Linked DNA regions of Homo sapiens: region 1 is linked to region 2. The links are contacts of gene promoters, found by promoter capture Hi-C in blood cells and fetal thymus (Javierre and others, 2016). All regions are on one chromosome and are shown on one strand. The core of a region is centred on a gene start or on the middle of the fragment in contact, and the rest is flanking DNA. Distances in the headings are between cores, read along the strand shown. Region 1 has its middle 4.6 kb from the start of DNAJC13. Region 2 holds the start of RYK (receptor like tyrosine kinase).

Region 1 (4,754 bases), core at 63-2,562, 1.8 Mb after region 2:
AGAGTGACAAATGCACACTTCTTTTTCTGGATTTGTCTTTTTATTCATAATTAAAGTTTGCACTAGCGTTTCTGACACTTTCATAGTGCAGATGTATCAAATTTACAATCTAAATTATGTGATGTACACTTAAAATATTTCACAGCTTTTTAAAAAATACATTTCACAGCCTTTTAGGCACCAATAGCCTTTATCAGTCTCCAAAGTTAGCATACAAGGCTGGAGTGATCTAAGACTTTAGAGAGCCCACAAGAATGTCAAACACTTGCTTATCTAATTCCCATTGCTGCTAAATTGACCTTCCTAATTATATCAATGCCCAGATCCAAAGTAAATCCTTAAGAACTCATACCACTCAACAATGCTTGAACTATGTTTTCAGTACAGTAGCCACTAGCCCTATGTGGCTACTGAACACAGAATAAAAATTAAAATTGTTACAAAAAAATGTAAAATGTTGCATTAGCAATTTTTATATTGATTACACGTGTTAAAAGAAAAAAATATTTAGGCCGGGCACGGTGGCTCACGCCTGTAGTCCCAGCACTTTGGGAGGCTGAGGCGGGTGGATCACCTGAGGTCAGGAGTTTGAGACCAGCTTGGCCAACATGATGAAACCCCGTCTCTACTAAATATAAAAAAATTAGGCGGGCCTGGTGGTGCATACCTGTAATCCCAGCTATTCGGGATGCTGAGGCAGGAGAATCACTTGAACCTGGGAGGGGGAGGTTGCAGTGAGCCGAGATGGTGCCACTGCACTCCAGCCTGGGCAACAAGAGTGAAACTCTCAAAAAAAAAAAAAGTATTATTTAATGATACTTGTTAAAGCTTGGTAATAGGCTGAGCATGATGGCTGACACCTGTAATCCCAAGGCTTTGGGAGGCCAAGTCAGGAGGATCACTTGAGGCCAGGAGTTTGAGACCAGCCTATGCAATGTAGTGGGACCCCATTGCTACAAAATAATAAAAATAAAAGCATTATCTGGGCATGGGGGCATGCCCCTGTAGTGCTAGTTACTCAGGAGGCTGAGGTGAGAGGATCTCTTGAGCCCAGGAGTTCGAGGTTACAGTGAGCTATAATTGTGCCACTGCACTCCTGCCTGGGCAGCAGAGAAAGACCCTGTACCCCCTGCTCCCCACAAAAAAGATTTTATTCAGTTTATTTACGATCATTACAATAGGTACAGGAGCCACTGCAACAGGGGCTTGCAGTAAGGGAGAGAGACGGGGCTCAGGTCGGAAAACGACACGGGCAAGTATGCATTTATCTCCAAGGAACAGTGTGTGGGGGTCAGTGGATGGAAAATTACTAAGAGAAAACATCAGGGGTGAGCGGGGATCCTGGCTAAACCTACGTAACAGGATTCTTGCTAAAGACAGGCCAGAGTGATTAGACATCTTCTGGGGGAAGGTGAAAGATGAGGAATCTGATCACATATCGAGGGAATTTTGGCTAAACTGACTTAGCCAGGTTCTTTTGCAGACTAGACTTTTCAAGGAAGCACACAGAGGGGCCTAAGGAAAGGTTCAGAAGCCTGATTAAAATTTGGCTGAGCAAAGACTCTTTGTCACATGTGGAAATGATAATATTATGGCTGTATATTTGGTTAAATAAAATGTTATTAAAATTAATTTCACTTGTTTCTTTTAAGGAATGTAGCTACTAGTAAATGTAAAATTAAATATATGGCTCCCATTGTATTTCTCTTGGACAATACTGCTATTAGAAAATCTTGTGCAAGCAAACAGTAAGTGTCAGAAAACAACTACGTCGAGTTGGTGAGCTTGAAGCTTCCACAGAATCTTCTACTGGACTTCATTTTAATTTGTTATGTGATTGGTTGGTTGTTTGTCTTTAGTGGTTTTTCTCAAGATTTATCTGGCCACACGTATTTAGTTTTCTGTGTTTCTCTATACTGTAATTCAAATAATTGAAATTATTTACAACATATGACAAATTATGACATGAGAATTTCTTGACATATATACATATGTATCTGTATATATATATAGGATCCACAATTTTTTTTTTTTGTAACTGATAGCCTGGCTTCCCCAGCTCACTTAATCCTACCCCAGGAAGTCTAGTTTTATTATTAATGTGAATTAAAATATCTTTTTAAATAGTATAATGATGTTCATATATAAAGGATTTTGAATTTATAATATTTTATTAACAAAAACATGCTTTCATTTAATTACAGGAAATTATCTAGATTTGATTATATTTTCAAAGATGGATGAGGAGGGAAAAGAAAATAACTTATTCTGTGGTCTAACAATTTTAAACTATTATTGAAATTTTAACTGGTTAAGAAAAAGGCCTGTGTTCTTTTTCCTTATTAAATTTTACCACAACTGCTCTTTTACAATATATACACTGCTGAGGGTTTTCTAATTCAGGTGTTCTTACTAATTAATTCAAATACTTCTTGTATTATCAGATTTGAGAAAACTCAAGAACCTTATGTGGTTTTTTCCATAAAGGGTTTTGAAGTGAACAAGATTTCCAATCTGCTATGAAATTATTATATTCAGACATTTTTAGTCATCAGCACTTGAAGGAAATATAATGTAGTTTAAAAAACTCACAGGCAAGTTCGTTATCCTCTTTGAGTCTTAGTTCCCTCTTCTGTAAACTTCAGATATTGATACCTACCTTGAGAGACATTTGCAGGAGTTACATAACTTATGTAGAGCACTTCATTACTGAGCACACACTATAGTTAATATCAGGGTCTCCAGCTTGTTTATGTAATCCTTGTCTTTGAGTTTTTAAATGAAACAGGTTTGCTGTAGTTCTTATCATCAGAGGACTAACCAGATGAAGATAATACAGATAATAACTTATATAGAGCAGTTCATTACTGAGCACACACTATAGTTAATATCAGGGTCTCCAGCTTCTTTATGTAATCCTTGTCCTTGCGTTTTTAAATGAAACAGGTTTGCTGTAGTTATCATCAGAGGACTAACCAGATGCTAATAATACAGAATGTCAGATAAGCAGATATTCTGTATTATTAGCAGAATGGGGAAAGTTCAAGTGTTCATTCTTGACAACCATATTTGAATACTCCTATCATGAGACATCATTAAATAGTTCATTTTATTTATTATGGAGAACACAGAGTTGACTTGTTCAATTCATCTGTGAATGTTAACAATGCAAAAAAGTCTTACATGCATGGAATTTCGACAGTCACAATATATTTTAAAAATGGTGATCCAAAACTTGACCATGAGGAAGTTCTTAGAATGACAATGACTCATTCACGCCTAAATCAAGGTGAGTTAATCAGGTGCAACAAAAGCTTTTTTTTCCCACTAATTTTGTTAAAGATCATTGCAACCACATAGAAGGAAAGGATATCTATTCATTAATCTTGGATAATAACTTATTCATATTATGCCTATCTGAGAACATAAAACTTCATTACCCAAATTATTGCTGGCTTTGAGCATATAAAGATGATATGACTGTTATTTCCATGTAAAACTTAATTTTGTCAATGAAAAGATGATTTTTTTTTCTTTTTGTGAGCAACAGTAAATGAGGTGGCAGCCACCTACTTAGCGTAAAGGAAAATAAAACATAAAAGAAGTAGTATTTCAAGCTCAACTAATTAGCTTGTAAAGTTATTGGTTCTCAAATCTATACAGTGAAGTCTGAGAAAAAAAAAAGTAAATCAATGTAAACCAAAATAAAAAGCACATACTAACAAAGCCAATTTGAAAAAAATCTTACTAATATAGAAGAAACTCACATATACTAGTCACTGCAAATGTTAAAGTTACTTTGGGTCTATTCCTAATCTGCCTGTCAGACAAACTTTGAGAGTTGAAGGATTATACATCATACTACTATAGAGACACATGCTCACATATGTTTATTGCAGCACTATTTACAATAGGAAAGACCTGGAACCAACCCAAATGCCCATCAATGATAGACTGGATAAAGAAAATGTGGCACATATATACCATGGAATACTATGCAGCCACAACAAAGAATGAGTTCATGTCCTTTGCAGGGACATGGATGAAGCTGGAAACCATCATCCTCAGAAAACTAACACAGGAACAGAAAACCAAACACCGCATGTTCACACTCATAAGTGTGAGTTGAAAAATGAGAACACATAGACACGGAGGGGAACATCACCCACTGGGGCCTGTTGTGGGGTCGGGGGAAAGGAGAGAGAGAGCATTAGGACAAATACCTAATACATGCGGAGCTTAAAACTTAGATGACAGGTTGATAGGTGCAGCAAATCACCATGGCACATGTATACCTATGCAACAAACCTGCACGTTCAGCACATGTATCCCAGAACTTAAACTAAAATTTTGTTTAAAAAAGGTTTTTTTAAAAAAAGTCTATAACCATCAGCGCATGTATCCCAGAACTTAAAGTAAAATTTTAAAAAAAGTATGGTTTGAACATGTTAAGTTTTAGAAACCCTGTATATTTCCAGAGTAAATACTATTGCCTACCCAATATCATTTTCCTCTTCTTCCCTACAAGTTGAAGGTGGCAATGTGCCACCTACAAGTACTACATCGTCAACCTCCTCTCAGATCGGCTGACCATATCAGAGATGACATAAGTCTGGCCGATGAAACATAAGCAGATATTGTTGGTGTGGGCTATCAGATTCAGCTAGTAGGTGTCCTTTTTCCCCCACCCTTTACGTTTTTTTTGTGCCCAGAGCATAGTTGTGATGGCTAGAGCTGCTTGTCTGTGGGCATCT
Region 2 (4,850 bases), core at 1,085-3,584:
TCTGGGGGCCACACTTTGAGAACTTGTCTTTGTAGAATTTATGAAAACATTTGTTTATCAAAGTTCTCAAGGAAGCACATTGCTCGCTCCTGTGTCCCCAGTGCCTAGCGTGATGCCTGGCACGAGTCTTCATCGAGCTCAGGCTCTGGGCCAGGCTCAGTGCTATTGAATGAGGTTCATGAGGGTCCCAGGTTTGAACTGTTTGGAGGTAACTGGTGATGAAACTTTCACAGGAAGTGGTCATTAAAGGGAAAGGATTCCTTGTAATTACAATAACAACAGGTGTGACACCTACCCAGCGTCTGCCTAGATGTTTTACTTGTATCCCTCTCCAATTAAATCCTGTAAAAGCCCTGGGAGTCGGGCATTATCCCGGGATTTTTATGAATGAGAGAACCAAGGCTTGGAGAGTTTAATTTTCCCAAGACCACAGGATTAACAAGTACCAGAACCCAGCCAGGCCTGAGTGGGAGCTCTCTGCTGTTTACATCATAGGCCGCCTGAAGAAGTCACTGACAAGACCTAGTAATTAAAGAACCTCGAGAAGCTAGGAGTTTCATTCTTTGAGGACTGTGAGCTTTTTTAAAAGTGCAAAGAATATGCCATCCTTTAAAAAAATGCTTCCCATCTGAATTGAGATTCCTGTTCACACAACATGTTTTGAGCCTCCAGCCCTTCCTGGCAGAACCCTGGTAGCAGTGGCTGTCCCAACAGAAGTATTTTTGCTGACTTTTGTGGCTTAAAAGCCTTCTCTGATGGAGCACTTTTCCTCCCCTCTTCCTCTTCTCAGCCTCCTCCGGCAGGATGAAGGGTGTAAGATTTTGTGCTGAGGCGCTGAAGCTTGACAAATTGAGGCCAGCCTATCTCTAAATGGAATCCGTGTATCTTGCTAGGGAGGGAGAAAATCAAGTTCCAGCACTTCCCTCCTTATCAGCCTCTCCTTTTCCCTACCCTTCCCTGAGGATAAAAATAACCGCTTCCCAGGGCCTCACTGCGATGGAGCAACTGTGCCCCGAAGCCAGGCCTAGCTGTCAGAGCAGCTGCTCCCCGAGGCACGGCCCCGCGAGAGCCTTGGGGTCAGGACGGGGGCCTGTCCGCAGGGACGAGGTGTCCCAGGACAGGGCAGGGGCCCTTGGAGCCTCACCAAGAGAGGGGGCACTGGTGCAAGTTTGACCGCGATGGTGGGCGGCTCACAAAAATACATCAGGAGGCCCGGAAGTCCATGCACTGGCTGGCTCCACCGCCTTTAAGTACACGAGGTCTATCTGCAGTTCTTAACCTCTTTGAGGGCACAAGGACTCCCTAGAACAAATGATGACATACCACCTCTCTGTGTGCAATCAAGCATACACACAACACACAGAAACATGGACGTGGACACAAATACGCACGGAGACACATACACTTTTGCACACAGTTTCATATTATTGGAAGGCTGTCGAAGCCTGGTATGGACCACAGATTAACAACCCCAAAGGCAGGTTGATTATAGTGATGCAGAACGATTATAAAAAAAATAACAATTTGGCAGGGCGCGGTGGCTTACACCTGTAATCCCAGCACTTTGGGAGGCCGAGGTCAGTTGATCACGTGAGGTCAGGAGTTCGAGACCAACCCGGCCAACATGGTGAAACCCCGTCTCTACTAAAAATACAAAAAAATTAGTCGGGCATGGTTGCGGGCGCCTGTAATCCCAGCTACTCGGGAGGCTGAGGCAGGAGAATGGCTTGAACCTAGGAGGCAGAGGTTGCAGTGAGCCGAGATCGTGCCAGTGCACTCCAGCTTGGGTGACGGAGCAAGACTTCGTCTCAAAATAAATAAATAAAAATATAAAAATAAATAAAATTTTGTAACGTAAAAATAGGGTTAGTAAAGCGTGCTAAGATCTTTCTGGAAAACAAATATATGTAGTATAAATTCTAATAATAGATACGGAAACGATAAAGTTGATCACCGATGGTAAGATAAAGGATGATTTCTATTTATTTGAGTTTTCCCACTAAACAGGAAAGCATGCTGCTTTTTCGCAACCAGAACGGCCGCATCCAGGCGTTTCCGGGGACCTGGGGCGCCCACTGAGCTGCAGGCGCGGCCGGTGGCTCCAGCCTGGCCCGTCCGTCGGGAAAGGAGGGTTACAGACAATAGACAAGCAAACATTAGACGCAGTGACCGCGTGGGGCGGGGACCGGCTCTTGCGGAGAGGGTGACCCGAGCCCTTCGCCCGCCGAGGCACTTTAAAACCCCAGCGCGTTGCCCAGGCCGGCCCGCCCAGAGCGAAAGGTGCGTGCGCGCTCCCGGGGAGGCGGCGGCGCGCACGGGCGCGTCCCGCGGGCAGCCCCCAACTCCGGACGATGCAGCGAGGAGGCGGCGGCGGCGGCGCGCTCCGGAGGTCTGAAGCCACTGCTGGCTGCCACGGGCCGGCGGTGCGATGAGCTGGGCAGCCGCCCCCGGCTCGGGGCTGTGAGCGGCTCGGGGCCGGGGGTGGGCGGCGGTGCGGCGGGCGGCCGACGCTCCTCTTCGGCGGCGGCGGCGGCGGCCATGCGTGGGGCGGCGCGGCTGGGGCGGCCGGGCCGGAGTTGCCTCCCGGGGGCCCGCGGCCTGAGGGCCCCGCCGCCGCCGCCGCTGCTGCTTCTGCTTGCGCTGTTGCCGCTGCTGCCCGCGCCTGGCGCTGCCGCCGCCCCCGCCCCGCGGCCCCCGGAGCTGCAGTCGGCTTCCGCGGGGCCCAGCGTGAGTCTCTACCTGAGCGAGGACGAGGTGCGCCGGCTGATCGGTGAGTGGGGCCGCCGAGGCCGGGGCGGGCAGGTCGGGCCGGCTGGGGCAGCTTCCGGCCGCCGGCGGATCAGTCTGCGAGCCGTGGACCTCGGGCGAGTACCCTCCCCGCCCCCCGCGCCCGGATTCGCCTCGCGGCCCGGTCTCTGCCTGCCGTGCTGGCTGGGAGGTGTGGTCCCTGCCCGGTCCCCAGCTCTGGGTCAGCCTTCGTGCCGCCCTCGCTGCCCCGCCGCGATAGACCCAGATTCACCCCATCCCATCCTCCTCACTGCCTCCTTAGCCCTTCTCCCTAGAAGAGTCAGTCACCCTTACAACTTTTTTTCCTTGCTGCACGAAGTTTTTTTGACGCTTTCTATGTGTGTCACTCTAGGGCCCTCGATTTTGAATATCTCGAAATTCACGTTTTAGACTGAACTTGCAAACCCTTTGCTGTGGTTTTGATGCTCCAGTAGAGGCCACGCTCTGTGCTTACCCTTTTACAAAAAAAAAAAAAAAAAAAAAAAAAACGAGAGAGAAAGAAGGGGAGGTTATAAGGGCACCAAATGTTCGTGGCAGCCTCCAACTCTTGGGACGTAGATTTGGAGCATATGCTTAGATTCTAAGCATATTTTTAGTGAATGAATCGCCAGGTAGCAGACCTTTTTAGTTTCAATACCTTTTTGGTTTTTGCATTGGGTGTGTTGGGAGTTTGGACTGACTCTGTACTTCTGGGCCACTCTCCTACTTTTGAGTATCTTGAAGGGAAACAAGAACTTAGTCTTGGGTCGGTTTGTGGTTCCATTTACTTGCTTAGCTTTGTTGTTTGGGGAATTAATTTGAAAAATTGCTGGGGTCTTATGTTAGGACTTTGTGGATTCTGGAAATGACCCCTTAGAGGAAGATCTGACAGGAACGACCCCCCAAAAAGGAAGTCCTTGGTACCTAGACGTTTGCATTCTTTTGTTATTATGGCAGTATCTTTATTTCATCTGAAGGTGGTGCTTCTGAGTGTTTGAGGGGAAAAATTATTCTCTATTGCATCCATTATTTGTCAGTATTCTATTTTTTTTTAAGTAATAAGACTTTGTTGAGGTGTGTTGAGATTGACTCAGTGTAGAAATGGAATTACTGAAAGCAGACTCTTTAGACATTACATGTACGGATTTGCAGTTTTTAGCCAAAGAAGAATGCTCTTTTTATGAAGTCGTGCTCATTCTTAATCCTTCTTAGTCTAGCTGAGTTAGCTGAATGTAGTTTAGCTGAATTAAAACTCTACTTGGGGTAGTACTTGGAACACAAGACTAAGATTTAGGAAAAATAATACAAGACGACTCATATCACATTAATTTTAGAAATATTAACGTATTATGCATGGTTTTGTAAAGGCTTTTTGGTTAAAAGCACTTATATAGCTTGTGACTTTGTTTACATGGGTAAACAAAGTCAGAGGTGTAGGTAGGAGACAGAAGACAACCAGGGACTGACATTGAATTCCTGCCATATACCTGCCCCTACATGCTTTATACACATAATTTCTTCTAATTTTCTCGGGGCCCAGTGAGGTAGGTGGCATTATGCCTATTGTAGAGATGAGGAAAGTGGGGTTTTAAAGTAACTTGCTCAAGGTCACACAGTTAATTTTTTTTTAGACGGAGTCTCGCTCTTGTCACCCAGGCTGGAGTGCAGTGGCGTGATCTCGGCTCACTGCAATCTCTGCTTCCTGGGTTCAGGTGATTCACCTGCCTCAGCCTCCCAAGTAGCGACCACTTCTGGCTATTTTTTGTATTTTTAGTAGAGACAGGGTTTCACCATGTTGGTCAGGCTGGTCTTGAACTCCTGAGCTCGTGATCTGCCCGCCTCGGCCTCCCAAAGTGCTGGGATTACAGGTGTGAGCCACCGCACCTGGCCTAGTTCATATTTTTGAAAAAAATGAAACAGTGTTGACATAGGCTGCAAAGTTTTATCGAATGAAATGAAGATTTTGTCTGTAGAAGTTTGATTATGTCATGGTGGAAAATAAATCATTGCTAATTAGCACTTGAGTTATATATTTGTTACCTTATTCAAAGGTTGGCCTGGAACTAATTTTCTTAGCAGTATTT

The links. Contacts are between HindIII fragments. The CHiCAGO score rates a contact against its expected background, and 5 or more counts as called.
Region 1: a fragment that was not itself captured here is called in contact with the fragment with the promoter of RYK in region 2 in 1 of 17 cell types (naive B cells); the score reaches 7.1 in naive B cells.

Annotation. Positions count from the first base shown.
Region 1 is chr3:132,410,542-132,415,295 of GRCh38, reverse strand. No RefSeq gene overlaps it. Among named protein-coding and RNA genes, the nearest start is that of DNAJC13, 4.6 kb to the left of the region's middle. The HindIII fragment of the contact is 963 bases long and covers 831-1,793 here.
Region 2 is chr3:134,248,343-134,253,192 of GRCh38, reverse strand. It overlaps RYK (receptor like tyrosine kinase), which reads left to right and starts at 2,334. Exons shown (of 15, transcript NM_002958.4): 1 at 2,334-2,770. The coding sequence starts at 2,539. RefSeq lists a silencer at 2,160-2,979 and an enhancer at 2,315-3,093. The HindIII fragment of the contact is 6,752 bases long and covers 843-4,850 here.